Linked DNA regions of Homo sapiens: region 2 is linked to region 1. The links are contacts of gene promoters, found by promoter capture Hi-C in blood cells and fetal thymus (Javierre and others, 2016). All regions are on one chromosome and are shown on one strand. The core of a region is centred on a gene start or on the middle of the fragment in contact, and the rest is flanking DNA. Distances in the headings are between cores, read along the strand shown. Region 1 holds the start of ELMOD2 (ELMO domain containing 2). Region 2 has its middle 4.8 kb from the start of SMARCA5.

Region 1 (3,869 bases), core at 1,007-3,506:
CAGTTCTTACTCATCTGTGTTCAAATTTTAGAGTAAAATTTTCAATGAAGCACTGAAAACTGATGTATTTTAGAAGGTAACAGAGCAACACTGTTCAACAGAAATATAACACAAGCCAAAATGTGACCCATTTGTGTACTTTAAAATTCTGTATAGCCACATTAAAGTAAAAAGAAACAGATAACATTTTAATATATTTTTAACCCAACATATCCAAAATATTACCATTTCAACATACAAAGAATATAAACAATTACTGGGACTTTTTACATTTTCTTATAAGTCTTTGAAATACAGTTTATATTTTACACTTACAGCACATCTCAATTTAGACTAGCCACATTTCAAATGCTCAATATAATGTGGCTATTGGCTATGGTATTGGACAGTGAGAATGAGTCTAATAATCTTTCCTAGAGACCACTGGATACATAATTACAGGCCTTTCATAAGTAACAGTAAGAAAGTAAAAGACTGATGAAGGATCCTAAGTATAAAAATGGATGTAGACTGAGGCACTCATTCTTCCCACCATGTGAGTGAAAATTTCAAAGGGATTATGTAAGTATAGAAATTTTTCACCAGAAAATAGGTTGCAACTATAATCTAAGGAATAACCGATAAACTTCAGGAGCCAGAGAATTCTTTCCACACATAAGCAATTAAATAACCACTTTTTCTATAAATTCATACAATTTTAGAGCTGAAGGAGTCAAAGCGGGACTTCAGAGCTTATGAAATTCAGTTTAAGTGACTTGTCAGGATACAAAAGAAATACATCTGTCACTGTGAGTCCTGAGAAAAACACTCCGTTAAACTTTTATTAGTACTTTTTCTTTTTGAATAACATTACCTATCCTGTGTGTCCTTTGTGCACCTACATAGGTATCAAATATTCGCTGCAATTCACACTTCCCAGTCATCTGTCGTAATAGCCATTTCATCCAAAATCGAAAAAAGTGCCCATAGAAGAACTCCCACAAAGAAATAAACATTTTTTTTTCCTGGAGGAGGGAAACATACAAGACAAGCTTAATGACCTTAAACTGAATTTTAAAATTTAAAAAGTTTATACAACTGATCAAATCTCAAATTATGTATCTATCATTTCATTGTGTCTGTTTTGACAGTTTAATTAGGCATTTAAAAACAATGGCAGGTGTAATATATACCGCTATTAATTGATGATCAAATGGCCAATTAATCACTTTTTCAAAACTAAAATTCAAACAATGTACTCAAACTATTCAATGGCTTGAAAGAGTAACAGAATGGTTTGCACTTTTTGCTAAATAATTGTATTTCATATCTTAGTTTCCTAACTTCCCATTCTTTGAGAACTGGGGCTCAACAGTTCAAGATCAAGAGGACTCCAACTAATCAACAATTAAAATATATACCAAAACATCAGAGTTGTTTTTATAGAATACACTCTTCTTATCCCATGTGGATAATTCGTTACAACTGTCCCAGTCAGGTGATGCCAGCAAATAAAAACACTACAAACTTAAGTATACAAGTTGAACACTGAGTATATAACACCTTAGCTCATTCTTGATTTTCCATTCAATAGGTCAAGGGCAGAAATACTAACAAGTTTTTGTTTTGCTAAGTACACACTCGATACAACTATATCTTATGCCATAAGAAAATTCTTCAGCTTCTAAATGAAAAAGTCAGGGAGATACTAGTGAGAGGGAGATACTTAAAAACAAAATTGCTCGTCTCCTTCCTGCCTTAAACATTCCCACAGACACGTCACCTCTGGACTAGGGCCTGAGGAGGGACTGTCGAAGTTCGAAGTACCCGCAGGTCAGTGCAGAAAGAGCGCATAGCACAGCTGGGTTGATCATTATCTTGAAAATCAAGCCATCTAGTCCGCGCTCATTAGGACAAAAGCGCAGAACTGCCGAGCAGAGGGGATGCACGCGTAGCGGCGCCTGAGCACCCCAGGGCTCTGGGCGTCTCTGCGCCGACCCCCCTCGCGCGCCGCCCGCGAATGGGAGGGCAGGGCTCGCACAAAGACCCGCCGGCCCAGGCGCCCCCGGGTTCCCGCAGAACCCCGCGGGGCTCGCGAGCCCGCGCGCTCTCAGTGCAGCCGCACCGAGGCATCCGGGGCAAGAGGAAAAGAAACAGCAGCCACCTCACAGGAGCGGAAGAACTAGGGGGAGCAGGAGCTGCCTCGGTTTCCCCACTGCAAACAGCCGGCAACGGAAACGACGGAACACTCCCTTCAAGCACCGCGACCCGGAAGTCAGGGAGCGAGGCCGCGGACCCGCCTTCCCAGGGCCACTGCCCGCCCCGCCCCTCCGGCCTCTTCCGATTGGCCCGCGCTCCACCTATTGCTAACGCTGGAGAGAGGTCGAGCTGAGTGGCCCAGGCGCGAGGGCTCAGATACTAGGGACGCCCAGACGGTTTCCCTGGCAACGGCGGCCAGGAGCCCCGCCCCGCGCCGGAGTAGCGCCTCCTAGCGCTGCGCTGGAGACTTTTCCCTCCTTGAACCTCAGGTCCTTAGCGCGGGTTGACACCTTGTACTATTCCTAGGCTCCAAGCGCGGAAGAAACCCTGTGCTTACGGTAACTTATAGTGCCTTAGTTACAAAAGCGCTTTCATCTGCATTGAATCTTAATTCTGTGAAGTAATTATGAATAACTCCACTTTATGCACGAGAAAAGGGAACCGGCTACTTGACTGTGGCCAATACGTGGCAGATGAGGAAAGTCCATGTGTTGAGAAACGAAGTTTGGACTTTATCCTATAATACTATAGGTCTAAAAGTTAATTTATCAAATGTTTATTCCCTAACTGGTTGTTTTTGTTGAAAAAGTAATTTCGTGATTACTTTTTAAAAACCTCAAGCAGTAAGTTTCTTAATTCAACAAGTATTTGTTGATTGTTAGCACAGGCAGTGTTCCAAAAGGCAGTCAAACACGAAACAAACAGCCAAATATTTAATATGTCAGATGCTACTAAATGTTAAGGGTATAGGGGTTGTTAGCTAAGGGGTAATGGGGAGTCTGTGGGGGAAGTCATTGCATACAGTGTGGTCAAGGAAGTCTCATTATTAACGTGGCATTTTGGCCTCATTGAACGAAGTAAGGGAGTTTACTGTGGGAGTATCTGGAGGGAGAGTGATCCAGGCACCAGAATGACAAGTGCAAAGACCTTGAATTGGGAGGGTTTTTGAAATGTTGGAGGAAGAGCAAGAAGGCCGGGGTGGCTGGAGGAGAAAGAGCAAGGGGGAGAGTAGAATATAAATACAAAGGACAACTGATACTGAAAACAAATTTCCCCATCCACCCAAAACTCCTGATACCTCCGTCACCTTGCTCAGAAGCAACCAGTATTACTTTCTTGTTTCTAATTCCAAAAATATTATATGCAAGTGTATATATGTATATTCCTTCCAACTCCTTGAATTGAAGCAAGTGATACATACTTTCCCACATCTCAACCAGCGTTTAAAAAATGGACTAATTGTAGAACACTAGCCATGTGCAGGGTGCATAAGCCGTCATCCCTGTCCCATACCAACAATGAACTTGGTAATGAAGTCTGGATAGACACTACAATAGTAAAATCACAGAATCTTAAATCTTAAAGAGAACTTATAACTATCATCTAATGTAATTTTTAAAATTATAGATTAAAAGATTTAGAAAGGCAAAGTGCACAGCCGATTTGGCAAATTGACCTGTAAACTAACTTCTATTTCAGGAGGATCTCCATTATTACACAAACTTTTACATAGTAGAAGGTGAGATAATTCTATATGTAATCCTTTTGCCTTTTCAAAGTGCTATACTAAGTGTAGGCAGTGCAGTAGAGGAACTCTCTCCTCCTTGTTTCCCTGCTGCCTGTTTGCCCAC
Region 2 (3,869 bases), core at 784-3,283, 3.0 Mb before region 1:
AAGTTATATGTAGGTATATAAATGAAAGGATCTTAAGTCTGATAACTATTTAAGGAAAGCAATAAATAGCAAGGAAAACAATGCACATAAATAAATAAAAATTGCCTCCAAAATGGCGATTGTCTTTTAACATGTGCATTTACATGTGAGTTTCTCATATGATCATATGAAAGCTGTATTAGAATCATTCGGGGGAAAATTATAGAGAAAAGATGGAAACTAGCAAGAGGACACAGAATGCTCGAACTCAGTTATCTAGCATAAGTGACAGAGAAAAAGATTTTTGGCAGAGTTTAGAACCAGAAAGGAAAAGCAGAGAAGAGCTACAGAAAAGACATGAAGCCTAGAAACAGCTACAGGGACATTAGCTGTGTTCCTCAGGCAGATAGCAATACTAATATGGTGGCCAAATCACAAAATCCTGCTAAAAGGCTAAAACTAGCAGCTAGTTGTTGAATTGATCACATAATACAGAATTCATGTGTTGGTAAAAGAGTGGGTTGGGGAGCAGGCAAGCCTAGATTCCAGTGCAGGCTCTGGAACTTAGTAGCTGTGTGAATGCAGACAAGTTATCTAACCTCTTTGAAATCAATTTTCTCATCTTTTTATTATTATATTTTCCTAGCTTTATTTTGAGATAATATTATGATGTCATAAAAATTAAATGAGACAGTATAAGGTACATGATACAGTGCCTGACATATAGTGAGTTCTGGGTTCAAGTGTTAGTCTTATCCTTGAGAATCATAAGCCTAAGGTTTAGAGTCTAGTTGAAAGAAGAGGAACCAAAGAAGGAGGAGGGTAAGGGGTTTGGTAGCAAGAAAACACCAGAAAGGATTAGAGCTTTAGTCGTATTCCCAGCAACAGAATGCTACAGTGTAAAATAATGTTAGTGTTCTATCTCCAATATGTATATACATAGTTTACACCTAAAATTTCCTCTGTTAGATTTAATGTGCTAGAACAGCAAGTACAGTACAGAAATACAATGGAACAAAGAGATGTTGCCAGAGGACAAAAATGTGCCGAAGAGCCAGGGCTCTCTCAGCATTGTGTCCTTGAATGGTAACAGAAAGGAGTTAAAGTTTTCTCAAGGACAAAGAAGAAATGCAACACCTCTCTTCATTGCAACTCATTTTGTCAAAGCTTAAGAAAATAAAGTCTGATTACTGCAAGACAATAAAACTGTATTGAGTTTGTATCTAAGAATGGGTATTTCCAACACCAGATACCAATGATTACATGTTGTATGTATCTTTTTTAGAGTTCTCCCACATAGGTCATTTGTCAATGTACAGAGATTTCAGTTAAAGAGAAACATTAACTGTACTGTTAATAAACAGGTAAGGATATATTCCCTTCATTCCCCTCATATTTAGTCACCAACTAAATAGTGGGAGACTTTGTGTCTGCTCGGTATATATGCATATGTTTATGTAGTCAAAGTTTTTCAGGTTTTCTCTGCATTTCTTCCTGCTCATGAAAAAATAATTTCTTTTTTGTTGGGCTGGTTCTAGGTAAAGTATTTCTAGGAACTCAAATATTATGATCCAAAGTTAAATTTTAACCACCATCTTTGAAACATTTTTGAAATAATAAACTACAAAGCTTCAATTAAGAAATTAGAGTTTTTTTATTTAGTTTTTATCTCATTTATTAAAAGGAACTTCAGACAAAGGAAATTAGGCAGTCTTTTGCTCAAAATATTGAAAGTAAAAAGATGGAAAATATATATCATTAAAACAATAGCAAAAAGAAAACAGGAGTGGCTATATCATTATCAGATAAAGTAGACTTCAGAGCAAAGAAAATTATGAGACAAAGAGGGACATTATATAATGATGAAAGTGTCAACCCAGAAGACATAGCAATTTTAAATGTATATGTACCAAACAACAGAGCTGCAAAATATGTGAAGCAAAAGGTGACAGAACTGAAATTAGAAATAACAAATCCACAATTATATGTGGAGACTACAGCATCTCTCAACAACTGATACTACAACTAGGCAGAAAACCAGCAAGGGTATAGAAGAACTTAACAACAGCCAATAGGATCTAATTGACATTTATACAACACTGCACATATTTTTTTCTTCTACAAAAGTAGGACTATACACATTCTTTTCAAGAACCCACAGAAAATATAGCAAGATAGACCATAAACCTTAACAAATTTAAAAGATGTGAAATCATACAGAGTATGTTTTTTAACCACAATGGAGTCAAACCAGAAATCAGTAACAAAATGTTACCAGGGATATATTCAAACTAAATGACGTGCTTCTAAATAATCCATGGGTCAAAGAGAGGTCTCAAGAGAAATCAAAAAGTACATTGAACAGAATAAAAATACAATATATTAAAATTTGTGGAACACAGCTAAAACAGTGCTTAGAGGGAAATTATACACTAAATGCTTACATTCAGAAAAGAGAATAGTCTCAAATGTAAGCTTTCACCTCAAAAAACTAAAAAAAGCAGAGCAAGGATAAATCCAAAGTAAACAAAAGGAAGGAAATAATAAAGGTAAGAGCAGGAGTCAATAAAATTAAATACGGAAAATAAAAAGCAAAAACTGGTTCTTTGAAAAGATACGTAAAATTGGCAAACCTCTAGGAAGTCTGACAAGAAAGGAAGAAAGGAAAAAAAGAGAGGGTAAGAAGGAAGGAAGAAACAAAGCTCAAATCACTAATATCAGGAATAAAACAGGACCTATCATTGTAGACCTTGAAAACATCAAAAGGGTAGTAAGGAGTACGACACACATAAATTTGACAACTTAAAACCACTTCCTTGAAAAATTCAAGCCACTTAAACAGTATAAAAAGATCATATGAATAGCACTGTAACTATTTAGGAAATTAAATTGATAAATTAAAAACTCCCAAAGAAGAAATCTTCAGGCACAGATGGTTTCAATGAAAAATTCTACCAAATATTTAAAGATGAATTAATACCAATTCCATACTATCTCCTGCAGATAATAGAAGAGGATGATACACTTTGTAATTCATTTTATGAAGGTGCTTTATCTCTAATACCAAATCAGACAGACACTACATAAGAAAGAAAATGACAGACCAGTATCACTGATGAATACAGACAAATCCTTAACAAAATATTATCAGATACAATTAAACAATGTGTAAAAAGAATTATGCACCCTGATCAAATGTGATTTATTCCAGATATTCAACACTGATTCAATATTTGAGTATTAGTCAATGTTGTCTGCCATATCAACAGGCTAGAGAAGAAAACTCACATGATTATATTGACTGATGAGGAAAAAGCATTTGACAAAATTCCAACACCCATTTAGAACAAAACTCTCAGAAAAAAAAAAAAAAAGAGAAAACAAATAGAGTGGAACTTCCTCCTCTTAATACAGAGCATCAGCAAAATACCTACAGCAAACATTATACTTAGTGAGATTGAATCCTCTCCCTCTAAGATCTGAAACAGGGAAGGTTTTCTGCTTATAACATTCATATTCAACACAGTGCTGAAAAGGAAAAATAGAGATCACTGAAATTCTCTTCAAACTGACATAAAACTTTTGTTGAAAATCAGAATAATGAACCAATTTGGCCAAATACAAATTTATATTTTTCATAATCTTTAACCATAAAGTGGAAGTAATGCTAGTTTATTTGATCAATAAATCAGTATAAATTTAGGAAAAACATTCCCAACTAAAATTATTATAGGATTTTATTATACTTAATATTGATAAATTAGATAAGACATAGATGATTTTATTAAAACAAAAATATTAAATTAGTCTTGTTTGCCAAAGATTCACCTACACTTTGTGAACATGGCTTCTCTACTTGTTAGTTTCAGTAAGAATACTTTTCTTTTAGA

What was found. Contacts are between HindIII fragments. The CHiCAGO score rates a contact against its expected background, and 5 or more counts as called.
Region 2: a fragment that was not itself captured here is called in contact with the fragment with the promoter of ELMOD2 in region 1 in 1 of 17 cell types (total CD4 T cells); the score reaches 5.2 in total CD4 T cells.

Annotation. Positions count from the first base shown.
Region 1 is chr4:140,522,555-140,526,423 of GRCh38, reverse strand. ELMOD2 (ELMO domain containing 2) reads right to left here and starts at 2,256. Exons shown (of 9, transcript NM_153702.4): 1 at 2,144-2,256; 2 at 854-1,004. The coding sequence starts at 995. RefSeq lists silencers at 1,895-2,014, 2,205-2,554. The HindIII fragment of the contact is 7,186 bases long and covers 1,034-3,869 here.
Region 2 is chr4:143,507,016-143,510,884 of GRCh38, reverse strand. No RefSeq gene overlaps it. Among named protein-coding and RNA genes, the nearest start is that of SMARCA5, 4.8 kb to the left of the region's middle. The HindIII fragment of the contact is 846 bases long and covers 1,611-2,456 here.